Linked DNA regions of Homo sapiens: regions 1 and 3 are each linked to region 2. The links are contacts of gene promoters, found by promoter capture Hi-C in blood cells and fetal thymus (Javierre and others, 2016). All regions are on one chromosome and are shown on one strand. Each heading gives the region's core, a stretch centred on a gene start or on the middle of the fragment in contact. The rest is flanking DNA. Distances are from core to core; before and after follow the strand shown. Region 1 has its middle 87 kb from the start of LINC02950. Region 2 holds the start of PRAG1 (PEAK1 related, kinase-activating pseudokinase 1). Region 3 has its middle 120 kb from the start of CLDN23.

Evidence for each region. The method cuts DNA at HindIII sites, captures the fragments that hold promoters and counts their contacts. A CHiCAGO score of 5 or more calls a contact.
Region 1: a fragment that was not itself captured here is called in contact with the fragment with the promoter of PRAG1 in region 2 in 6 of 17 cell types (M2 macrophages, M1 macrophages, M0 macrophages and 3 more); the score reaches 20.3 in M2 macrophages.
Region 3: a contact is called between a fragment that was not itself captured here and the fragment with the promoter of PRAG1 in region 2, in 1 of 17 cell types (M1 macrophages). The highest score is 6.7, in M1 macrophages.

The regions. Positions count from the first base shown.
Region 1 is chr8:8,545,965-8,550,077 of GRCh38, reverse strand. No RefSeq gene overlaps it. Among named protein-coding and RNA genes, the nearest start is that of LINC02950, 87 kb to the right of the region's middle. RefSeq lists an enhancer at 1-24. The HindIII fragment of the contact is 493 bases long and covers 2,183-2,675 here.
Region 2 is chr8:8,384,769-8,388,697 of GRCh38, reverse strand. It overlaps PRAG1 (PEAK1 related, kinase-activating pseudokinase 1), which reads left to right and starts at 2,259. Exons shown (of 6, transcript NM_001080826.3): 1 at 2,259-2,377. RefSeq lists a silencer at 1,877-2,556. The HindIII fragment of the contact is 9,968 bases long and covers 1-3,929 here.
Region 3 is chr8:8,584,690-8,589,183 of GRCh38, reverse strand. No RefSeq gene overlaps it. Among named protein-coding and RNA genes, the nearest start is that of CLDN23, 120 kb to the left of the region's middle. The HindIII fragment of the contact is 8,196 bases long and covers 1-4,494 here.

The sequences.
Region 1 (4,113 bases), core at 1,180-3,679, 160 kb before region 2:
AAGAGTGGGTTGAGGCAGATCATTTTTTCTCTGGATAAAAGTCTCATATTATTCCAGAGTCTTGCTTAGTTTAGAGTAGACAGCACTGAACCCACTGAGCAAGACCACACTTATTTGCATTAATTCGTCAGGCCAAGAAAAGCTATGCAACATGCAAGGTATAATAGAGGTGACAAAAAGTGTGATATGCTTCCTCTCTACCTTCAAGGATCACACATATTGTAAAAGCTACGACTAGTAGTGTAAAGCATAATATGAAATGGAGTAAAGGACTAGAACTAAGGAAAGTGTTTTACAGATGAGGGCAGAAGAAAGAGTAAAAAGTATGCCTCCCTAGGGCAGCTTCAGGAGTGGTATGAACAATGCTTCTTCCAAATTTTTTCCCTCTTGCCTTTGGCTCTGGGTTAAAGAAAACACTTAATTTTCCATCCAGAAAAAAAGATGGCTAACTTGTTCGCATGTTTGGATCCCTCCCTGCCCTCCTTCCTCTCTCTGTTGTAATTACAGCTGTTTCTTGTGAACTTCCTGGGCTCCTTAAATGCCGTGGACTGCTGAGAATTTAGACAGAGGCCATCTTCAAAAGAACTATGGTCGCTACAGAACCTGCAACCAATCAGAATGACTTTTCATCTGGATGCAGTCTAACCGGACCGGAAGTCAGCCATGAGCAAACCTGGAAGTGGCTAGACCTAGATGCTGGGTCTTTGTGTTCAGTATCTCTGTGATGAGGATTTGACAAGTCCTGCCTTTCTTTGACACCTAGGTCTGAATTGCATTTGTTATTGAACTGAAAGGTGATTTGCTCCCACACTGAGGAGAGGCACACAAATCAGACAATTGAATGTGAGCTTCCATTATCGGGATCCCCTCCTCCACCCCACTCCCTCACTGTGGGCTTCAGGAAAGTTGACTCAGGGGTCTCTTCAACAAGCTCTTGCGTTTTACTTCCCACAAACAAAAGGAAACTTGACTGCCGCAAAGCTCATCTCAATAAACTCCTCCCAAGAGACCATGTAACCAAAGGACTGCAGGAGGCCTTAGGCAGGCCATTTGGTATATTCAGGTTCCTCCTTGTGAAGAGCGCCCCAGCTCCTTCAAACAACCCCATCTCAGTGCAAGTCCTGTGAATGAACTGCACAGGGGCTCACTCATTCATTTATTCAATGCTGGGTGTTTCAAAGCATTTCCACAGTCCCAGAGAGGCTGCCTGAGCAGGGAGTGCGATCTGGCTGGTCTTGCTCTGCAGTGATTCTCTTTCTGCATGTACTCTGCTGTCTGCTGGAAGTAGAGCCCCAGAAGGTCGTTTGTCTCTTTTGCCACCTGTGGGGAACCTTTGAGGCAGCCCGTGTGATTTGGGTGCCTTGAGTCAATGAACAGCACACTGTTAGTCAGTTGCAATCTCGGTCTCTGTTTCTTTCTCTCTTTCTGTAGAATAATTTTAAAGGGCAGGCTGAGCAGTATCCACTGCACACCCTTTCTCTTTATCAGTCCACTTACAGAAAGAGGAAATGCAGTTTATGCCTTCCACAGCACAGACATGAACAGCCTGCGATTGATTTCATTTATGATCTGGGTTAAGTGGAATGTCTTACTGTATTGTTTATTTAATAACCTTGCTGTACTTTGCAAACTCAGTCAACTACAGCTAATTCCTGCCTAAGAGAACAGCTTCCCTACAGTATCCGTTGATATGAATACACAATATATGTACTTTCACTTTATTCACTTGACTATAATACATGCATACATTCATTTGTGCCAATCTAATCTCCGTGTGGCTTTGAAAATTTGACCTTGATGTTCTCTCTCTCTGTGAAATTATAGTCATATTTATTCTATTTGTGATTGGAGCTAAGGACTGTTACTTTTTTATTATGAGGCTGGAAGAAAGAAATGTTTGATAATAGGTAACAAAATCATACCCTTAAAGTTCACTGTGATAACTAATTTCAATAGAACATTCCAAAATGTTTAAGCAGTTTTTATTTTTAAGGCTTACAATAACATCCAGTTAAACTTCAAAAACATTTAGCTAACATGTAAAGACAGCTTTTTTTTAAAAAAGTACCTACATAAAATTTCCATTACATTATACATGCTGTCTTTACATAAAGATAAAAGGGTACATTTCTTGAATATTACATACCTAGGGACAAAATATCTTTTTGTTATTAAAAAAGCTTATTATAATTTTTGAAATAAACGCATTGATGACTATTTTTAAAGTGTGTCAAATGGTTACTTTTTAAAATAGTCTAGACATTCTGTTTGTATACTCCAGGCTGTTTAATTTCTTGTACTTCACTAGAACTTCCACAGGGGGCCACAAAATTTTGTAAAAATATCTGTGACAAATATGAATATGTTATGTCTAATCTTCAAATGGGAAGGTAAATTAGTCATGTTTCCAAAGATACTTACAGTGGCAGAGCTAGAAAGAATGAGATTTTTTTACTCTATTACACCATTTAATTGCCTGGATGGGTTGATTGATTTCCAGACAAATTTGTTTCTGTTTTTATGATGATTCACTATTGTTTTTTAGGTTAAAATATTTAAAAAAAATAATTTCTGTGTTGTGTTATCCAGTCAATTCCATTTCCACACACTATCATTTTGCCACCTAAATATTTCTTAACAATATTAGATGCTCAGCACTGTGTGAGGAGGAAGCTTGTATTTTTTTCCTTGTGTGTTTAGGGTAGTCTGACTTGCCTTCAAAAATCCATTCTCTCCATATTTTTCTAAATATGCTACTTAGTGAGGCTAAAGCAGAGTATATAGGGAAAGGTAATATTTTACAATCAGATTTTTTTTTTTTTTTTTTGAGACAGAATCTTGCTCTGTCACCCAGGCTTGAGTGCAGTGGCATGATCTCAGCTCACTGCAACCTCTGCCTCCCGGGTTCAAGCAGTTCTCCTGCTTCAGCCTCCCAAGTAGCTGAGACTACAGGTGCACAACACCATGCCCAGCTAATTTTTGTATTTTTAGTAAATACGAAGTTTCACCATGTTGGCCAGATTGATCTTGAACCCCTGTCCCCAGGTGATCCACCCGCGTTGGGTTCCCAAAGTGCTGGGATTACAGGCATGAGCCACTAGGCATGGCCTACAATCAGAACTTTTGATCTTTATGTAGTTTGTGATAAACATTACCAGGCTCCAAGCAAGGCGTGGTCATTGGGCTAAAATGTCCAGCAGCAACCTTTAACTGTGGGCACATATATAAAGATATGGGTCAAGATCATATGAAGAAACAGTGACCATTGGAAATCTCTCTCACCTCCCACCTCCTTTTATGGTTCAGTTCATCCATGCAGACTGCGTGAGATGATGAAGAAAGCCACTGAGTGGGAAAACTTGGCATTCCTATGCATCTTATGATTTTCTTAAAATTTGTATGAATTGTCATTGCAGCAATAGAATATGACTGCACACAACACTTCACAAAATAACAGAGAGAAGAGTTTGATGCTAATTAGTAGTTCTGATTTTTATTTTTCACTTTTATTTATTTTTTTGAGAAAGGGTCTCATTCTGTCACCCAGGCTGGAGTGCAGGGGTGTGGTCTTGGCTTATTGCAACCTCTGCCTTCCGGACTCCAGCAATACTCTCACCTCAGCCTCCTGAGTAGATGGGACCACAGGCACACGCCACCATGCCTCGCTAATTTTTGTATTTTTTGTAGAGACAGGGTTTGCCATGTTGCCCAGGCTAATCTCGAACTACTAGACTCAAGGTTTTCACCCGCCTCAGCCTCCCAAAATGCTGGGATTACAGGTGTGAGCCACTACGCCTGGCCTGGTTCTAATTTTTAAAGAACTAACCCACAGTGACCCATGGCTTATATTACCAATATATAGAATTTCTCTAATAAAGAGACTTGAAGTTGTTCATGCATGAAATAAAAAACATTTCACTAAAAAAAAAAAAAATGAGGCTAAATAGAGCAGACCGGGGTGAGGCAATTAGCACCTGAACTACCAACCAAGCAGTAGAAAATTAAGGGATCGATGGTAGAGATGTTGTAAAAGAATCTTCTGGACTTGGTAACTGAGAGGCCTTGGCAGGGAAGGAGAAGTAAGGGAGAAGGAAGAATAGAACATGAGCCTCA
Region 2 (3,929 bases), core at 1,010-3,509:
GAATAAGTTAGGTAAAGAGAAGAAAATAAAGTGCAAAAGTAAGTGCTTCTTTTATGTGTTCAGCACAGCCTTTATTCTGTGAGGTCAATGTCTCTCTTACAGAGGAAAGAAGTGAAACATTTAGCCTGAATCCTGAGAACCAGGAACTTCTCAAACATCTTAGTTTGCCCTCTCCCAGTGTAAATGAATTGCACACTTTCTGAAGTCACTTTTGTATTTCTCCATTGCAGACCACTTTGTACCTACCTGTTTAATCAACATCTTCCCCTCTTGAGTCTTGGTAGGGTCTGGATCTTTCAGCTCTGTTGGATGCTCATGAAGTGTAACCAAAGTTTCCCTTCCTTTTTTTTTTTTTTTTTTTTTTGAGACAGGGTCTTGCTCTGATACCCAAGCTGGAGTGTAGTGGTGCGATCTCAGCTCACTGCAACCTCCACCTCCCTGGCTCATGTGAGTCTCCTGCCTCAGCCTCCTGAGTAGCCGGGATTACAGGCGCCCACCACCACACTCGACTAATTTTTGTATTTTTAGTAGAGATGAGGTTATACCACATTGCCCAGGCTGTTCTTGAACTCCTGGCCTCAGGTGATCTGCCAGCCTCGGCCTCCCAAAATGCTGGGATTACAGGTGTGAGCCACCGCGCACGGCCAGTATTTGTTCAAATGATTTCTCTCCACTTAGGGGAGAGAGAAAAATAGGGCTGGACTACCTGCACTTGGCAAGGGCAGAGTGGCAGAGTAGACTTGCCTACCAGCGAAGCCAGACAGCCTTTGGTTCCAATCTTAGTACTACCACTTTTCAGCTGAGGAACCCCAGCAAATTGTGAGGCCCCCGAGCCTCAGTTTTCTTATCTGTAGAATGGGGATAATGATGCTCTCCTCATAGGATTGCTTAGCGCTGGGTAGGTCCTTAAGGAATGTCCATTGCACTCCCATCCCTCTACAGCTTCCCCCAGATTCTGTCCTCTTAGGAGGCATGGGTGTCACTGGAACATGAGGAAGAATTCCCTGGATCCTTTTTTCCCTTTCCTCACACAGAAGCCAAACCTCAAATACACATCTTCCCTCTCTGTCCACACCCACAGCAGCAAAGAGGAGAGCCAGGGATCTGGGGGTGGGGGTGGGGGCCCATCTTCCTCCTCTCAGTGGGTGGGGGCTCGCAGGCTGACTGGCAGAGGACCTTCACTGGAGTCAAAATAAACTGCCTTCCTGGGGAGGGGATAGAGGGCGAGAGAAGCCGCAGGTATTGTTTTGTGGGGGAGGGGGGTCCTCTTCCTATTCCATTTCACTGAATTCTTCCCACCCGGCATGGCCCTGGGAGGTGACCATAGCCCTGGCTCCCCGAGTAAACACCCAGGTCAAGCTACAGGACTGACTGGGTCTTAAGCTATTATACTCCCAGTGAAAAGATTTTTTTAGCCCGAGGACTATCTCGAACTCGTTCTATCTCAGTGAATGACTCACTGGAAACGGTGTAAACACAGGTGTATTACTGGCCTGCGGAAGACTTGGATGTCCCAGCATGGTAGAAGGCCAGGTCCCTGCAGTGCAACGCTTGCATTCTACATCCAGAAAACTAAAGTTCAAAGAGGTTAAGCAATTTGCCAGAATCCTGCAGTCCAGGGACTGAGCGGAACCTGGAATCCGCCACCGGGACTTCCAGCCCTGCTCCCTCCGGCGCCACCCTCTTCCCAGAGGTAGGGAGAGCTGAGGCTCGCTGTGCTCACGTGGCTTTCAGAGCCCGCCTCGGACCCTGACCTGTATTCCACTCCCGACCCCACACTTCCTCGTTTCCCCTTCCTTCTCCCTCTCTTCCCAGGGTCCCGCAGGGCCGGCTGGATGAAGTGATGCCGGGCACCTATACACGCATGATGGCAAAAGGAGGATTGCAACGCCAGAGCTCGCCCCTCCAGAGCTGTGCAGGGTCCCCACCGAGGAGGGGGTGCAAACGGGTGCTGGGCTCGGGGGTCAGCCCGCGCCAAGTCTGGGGCTGGGGGCGGAGCCTGCCGGTCCGGGGCGGGAGGGTGGGCAAGAGAGGGAGTCCCGGGGCCTGGAGACTTTGGAGGAGTCGGGGCCCTGGGGGTAGGAGACCGCCGGGTGGGAGCGGCAGGCGCAAGCCGGGCGGCGGGGCGCGCGGGCCAGGCGGGGCCGGGCGGCGGCAGGGACTGCGGAGGTGCGGCGTGAGCTGGGGCGGGCGGCGTCACCGGAGGCGGAGGGGGCGGAGCCGCGCTCACAGCTGCCACCCGGCCGCCGGGCCCAGGCAGAAGCCACCCGCCCGCGGCCGGGCACGCACCGCGCGCAGACCTTCTGCGAACAATGCTCCGGCCGGGCGGCTGGCGGCTCGGAGACCGACGGAGGGGCCGGGGGAGCGCAGCCCAGAGGTGAGCCCGCGACGCGCTCTCCAAATTCGGCCTCTTTTTGTCTGGCGAGCGTGGTCGCAGAGGGGAGCTTTGGAGGGGCGCTGCGATCGCCGAGCGGGCTACCCCCGGGGTGACAGGCGACCGCTCGGGAAGTGGGCAGTGCCGGGGCCGCGTGAGCCCCGGGTGGTGCCCGAGGTGCAGGGAGGCGCCCGGCCGGGAGGACCGAGGAGCTGGAGGGTGTTTTTGATTCATTCGAGAATCGCGCTCTTTAAAACGGGGAAACTTTCCTACGAGTTCCAGGAGGGAGGACCGACTGTTAGGATGGTTTCTCTGGTCTTGCTGCTCTGTCTGCGGCCGGAGGCTGAAGCGCTTTGAGGACTGCTTTCCACCGCTAGAGTATTGTCAAGGGGGAGAGACGGAAGGCCGCCTGGCTGCTGGGACCAGGACCCGGGGGGATGGTTTGGGGGTGCAGGGTATGCAGCAGCGGGGCTCCAGAGGCAACGAGATGATGCCCTTTTCCCCGAGCCCTGGCTGAGCCCTCTGAAACGCATGCTGTGAGCACGTTATTAACCTTTGCTGGTATCCGGGGACACACACACTTAGAACATAGAATCCTCTGCTGGGCATGGAGGCGGCCGGGCATTCGCAGCGGAGAGCGCCAGCTCACGGTGTGTGCGTTTCTCTCAGGTAAGCTCTCCCTGCACATGGTTTTGCAGAGCCGATAGCAAAGCCCAATGGTCTAGGGGCGAGGAGTTTTGGCGATGCATTCAGTGCGGAGTCAGGCTCAGAAGGCTTTCCTGATCACTGGCCTGAACTATTCTTAACAACTCCTCTCCCCTTCCCTTTCTGAGAAGAAAATTTGACAGAAAGCCCTAGGGAATTCCGCAGTTATTTTTCTCTCCTGAGGTCTGGTTGGTTTCGACTGTAGTGGGTGCAAAACCACATTCCTCCCTCTGAGATTTTCTTTCCTCCAGCACTGGAGGAAGAAAAAAGAAAAGGAAAAGTTGGGTGAATATCGTAATTTACCCTCTGCGTGAGTAGGGAGGCAGGGGGCTAGTGGGTGGTAAAGTTGTCACTTTCTCCTTTCTGCCTGGTCAGCCCTGGCCAGTGGAGTGTGCTGAAGTTCAGACACTTTCCACACATATTTCTTTCCTTTTACTGGCGTTGCATTAATTTAACTGTAACATACAGAAAAAAATTTTAGGTGAATGTTTTCTGCAATTCTGTCACTTCAGAATAAGGCATAAGCAACTTCTGATGTAAGTCTGAGGGGGTATTTTGGGCCAAAATATTTAATCTTAAAGATCTGGCCACCTTGATTCTTCAGATTCTTTTTTGAAATGGGGTGGGAGTGTATCTGACAGCTTCAGTCTTGCAAACTGTAGCCACAAATCTAGTGCAGAAGTTTGCAGAGGCAAAGACATTTTTTTCATGACTTGGATCAGAAAGAATGCTGAGCTCTTTTTTCTAATCTGACACTGCAGCCTCCTACTGAAATGGGGAGGATTTGCATAATTCTGGGGGCTGCCTCCCCTCAGAAGTAAGGAATGTGGGCTGCGAAGTGCCTTCCCCA
Region 3 (4,494 bases), core at 560-3,059, 200 kb before region 2:
AAGATTCAGGGTTCTTTTGGTGTAATATTCATATTAATATTTGGGGAAATAATTCTGACATTTGGCCTAAAATATTTTTTATGTAACCCAAATATTATGATGTATCATTCGGGGCCATGCTTTCTCTCATGAGTTTAGGTAACATTAGGCTCTAGCTGTTATTCTAGGTTGGAGGAGTTCAGAGTCCCACCCTCCCCCCACAAATTCTACATTTTCCTTTCATTTTTCCCTGTTTTTATTTCTGATCCCATAGATTCTTCACTGTGTCACCTTAAGTCCGATTTGGATGTAAAGCCAAACGCAGAGCTTGCCTTTCTCTATTTCCCACAGGCAATGCAATCTCACTGTGTTTTGTGCTTAATTGAAGATCTGAGGTGTCATAGGGAAAAACCCCATCATGTGTTATACGGCCTTTCTCATTTTCCAGATAAACACCTTCCCCACTGCATGCTGGCTCTGCCATCACCCCCACGCCCTGACCCCCAGATCACACTGTTCCTCCATTGAGGAGCCACTCCATGTGGTGGGACAGTCTGTCCAGTGGGGCCCCCAGAATTCTGGTGAACAAAAATAGCACAGACATATAACTGTTTATTCATTTTGGTTTATTTGAATGGAATTGGCTACCTTTTGATGCTACCATTCAAATGGACTTATTCACTTAACATACAGTTATGGACCTATGGAGCAAAAAACAACCCCAAAGGATGAAGTCCAACCTCCTCATTTTGCAGAACAAGAAACCAGGGGCAATATTTCCAACCTCACTGGGATCTTTAGGACAGAGCCTTACTCAGAATTTCAAGTTTCTGGATTTTGATACCACTTCTTTGCATCATGAGACAAAATCAGGAGCCCTTTCCCCACCACAGAGAAAGAAGGAAGCCCCTGCAACTCCTAGCCCCATCTCTGGGTCAGCAGGATTCAGGACCAGAAGATACAGACAGAAGAGGTACAAAAAACATACAGATGCTTTAGGCTCTAAAGCATCCAGGCTTAAAAAATAGGCAGAAATTAAAGGAGACGAGTTTTCAAAGAGCAGAGAAAGAGTGAACTATTAGCATTCAAACCACGAAATCTAACGTTACTGCTGTGACTCCTGCTTATCTCATAAATCTGCCTAAGCCTTTGTGACCAGAAGGATGACCTCAGTTTGGGGACCCTGGGCCTGAGATCCAAGATTTTGAAGATTTGTTCCAGGAGTCGCCCTCTGACTCTTTATACAGTCCTTGGGAATTACCTTAACCTTTTTGTGAACTGACCCCTTTGTAAAGCAAGATAATATTACCTGCCTTCATACGATGCCTTTTAAAAATCTATGAGATTCCTGGGGGAGGGGGAAATGTTGTGTTTTAGTTTAGAGGGAAAAGTCATATTTTGCCCTTTCACCAACACTTAGATGATTATCTGAGATAAACAACGTAATTAAGTTTGTGTGTGTGTGTATGTGTGTATGTGTTTAATACTTTTCAGTTGAACAAAATGTAATCACCCCATGAATGGTTTCACCTTGACTTTTGAAAATCTTTGTTTCATCTTGGGATGTTATAGCTCATATCTCATAGGAAAAACCAGCCTTGGAGAATAAAATTTGAAATTATAGACAAATATTGCCATCTCTTGTAGAATGTGCCTGGAAATTCTCTTTTCTCTGTATGCATTATATGCATTATATTTTCTCTGTATGAATATAACATAATATAGAGTTCTTGCTGGCTACTGATATCTAGTCCCTTGAGTTAGGGTGCCAATAGCTTATTTGCAAGTCAGTTTGCTGATGGCTTCTAATTGTACAGCATCTGTTCTAATCTCTCTAGTGAGCTTTAAAATTGAATTCTAACTTCCTGCGGAGTCTCCACTTGAGTATTCCAAAGCCAAGTCCAACCAAAAATGTCCCGAACAGAGCTCGTCATTATCTTCCCTGTCCTCCATACCAAGTTGTCCTCTGTCCCAGTTAGTCATCCAAGCCTGACATTCATTCCACACCATTCCCCTTCTGTCACCCAGCACTTTTGAGTAATTGGGAAATCTTATGACTATATCTGAAGTCTTTCTCCTTTTCTTTGCAGTATCATAGTTCTAATTCAGTCCCTTATAGCTTATCTGAACTACTGCTACTTATTCAAAAAATATTTGTTGGGGATATATTGCATGCCAGGCACCATTCTAGGAAAGTGGGATACAATTAGTAAACCAAATGTACAAAGATCCCTGCCCTAGAATATTTAGGGGAAAAAAGAGGGCAGAAAATAAAAACATAATGAATGGGTAAATTGTACAGCAAATTTAAAAAATATAATGAATTTTAAGAAATTATGTAGTAAATTTAAAAAATAACTGCTGGCTGGGTGCGATGGCTCACGCCTGTAATCCCAGCTCTTTGGGAGGCCAGGGTGGGCAGATCACCTGAGGTCAGGAGTTCGAGACCAGCCTGACCAACATGGTGAAACCCCATCTCTACTAAAAATGCAAAAATTAGCCAGGTGTAGTGACACATGCCTGTAATCCCAGCTACTCGGGAGGCTGAGGCAGGAGGATCGCTTGAACCTGGGAGGCAGAGGTTGCAGTGAGCCAAGATCATGCCATTGCACTCCAGCTTGGGCAACAAGAGTGAAACTCCGTCTCAAAAAAGAAATGATAATAATAACTACTATGCATAGGACATAGGTGCTAGGAGGAATTTGGGTGGAGAAGCTGTAGTTTGCCTTTTTAAATAGGATAATTGGAGTAAGCCTTTTTGAGAAGATAACATTTTATGAAAGGCTTGAAGGAGAAAAGCCACGTGTTCCCTGGGGGAAAACATGGCAGACAGAGGGAAGGGGCCTTCAATTGGGAACGTGGCTGCTAGTGTGCAAGTGAAACAACACAGCTGGAGGCGCAGGAGCCAGGAGAGAGTGATTAGAAGTGCGATGAGGGTTCACTATGTGAACTTCAGCTGAACAGGACGAAGAGGCATTGTGGAGTTTTGAGCAGAGGAATCATGGGACCTGATGTTTGTTTTAAGAAGGTCACTCTGCCTGCTGCCTTGAGAACAAACTTAAGAAACCAGAGACAAACCGGGAGACAAGGCTGGCAGCTGTAGCCACAATCCAGGTGAGAGATATTGGTGGCTGAGACAGGGTGGTAGCAGTGGAGGTGGTGAGAAAAGGCAGGTTGTAGAAATATTTTGAAAGTAAAGACAACAGAGTTTCTGGAAATACTGGGTTGCAGTGTGAGAGAAGTACAGGAGCCAAGGATAGGGAGTTTAGTGACCCAAAGGGTTTACCTGCCCATGGCTTCTCCCGGTGCAGCAGTACTTCCTCTGCGAAATTCATCTTCCCTCCTTTTTTTTTTTTTTTTTTTTTTGACGGTGTCTCACTCTGTCATTTAGGCTGGAGTGCAGTGGTGCGATCCTGGCTCACTGCAACCACTTCCTGAGTTCAAGCGATTCTCCTGCCTCAGCCTCCTGAGTAGCTGGGATTACAGGCACATGCCACAATGCTGGGCTAATTTTCTTTTTTTTTTGTATTTTTAGTAGAGAAGGGGTTTCACCATGTTGGCCAGGCTGGCCTTGAACTGTGACCTCAGGTGATCCACCTGCCTCAGCCTCCCAAGATGTTGGAATTACAGACATGAACCAACACACCTGGCCCCCTGCTACTTCCAGGGCAATCCTTCTATGGGGCAAATCTGGACCTGTCTCTCCTTGCTTAAAAACTTCAGCAGAATCTCTTTCCCTAGAGCCCCTTCATTTGTTACAAGATGCCATCTCTGAGGTGGCCCTGCCTCACCATCTTCGTTTCCCGCTTCTGTACCTTGTACTCCAAACCATCTGCAGGGGCCTGCCTGCACTTCCAGGAGGGATTATGATTTTGCCTCTTAGACAATGGTGTTTTATGTTTTCCTAGTTTGCTTGTGTGATACCTTGTTCCTGAAACTCTCTTTTCTGCTGATTTGCCCAATTGTTGGGAATTCTATTTGTACTACAATATCAGACATTTAACCGGGGAAGTGGAGGTTGCAGTGAGCCGAGATCACACCACTGCACTCCAGCCTGGGCAACAGAGCCAGACTCAATCTTAAAAAAAAAAAAAAAAAAAAAAAAAAAGTAATGCTGTATCCTGAGTTGCAACCTGGAGCCCTGTGGACTGGGGAGGGATTTGGCTTAATTTAGATTCACAAAGACCCAGACTCTGAGCATTCTTTAGAAGCTGGACTGGCCACCACCCGTGGGTACCCACTGTTCCTGGTGCACACCTGCCATAACAATCATTGCATCACATTAAAATGTGTCTGTTTCTTTTGGGACTGAATATAAGTTCCTCACTCCCCTCACCTGCAAGTACTTGGCACATTACTGGGCACAAAAAGTAAAACTGACCCTTGGACAACACAGATTGGAACTTCAGAGATTCACTTATATCCAAATTTTCTTCCACCTCTGCCGCCCCGAGATAGCAAGACCAACCCCTTCTCTTCCTCCTCCTCCTTCGTCTACTCAACCTGAAGACGACA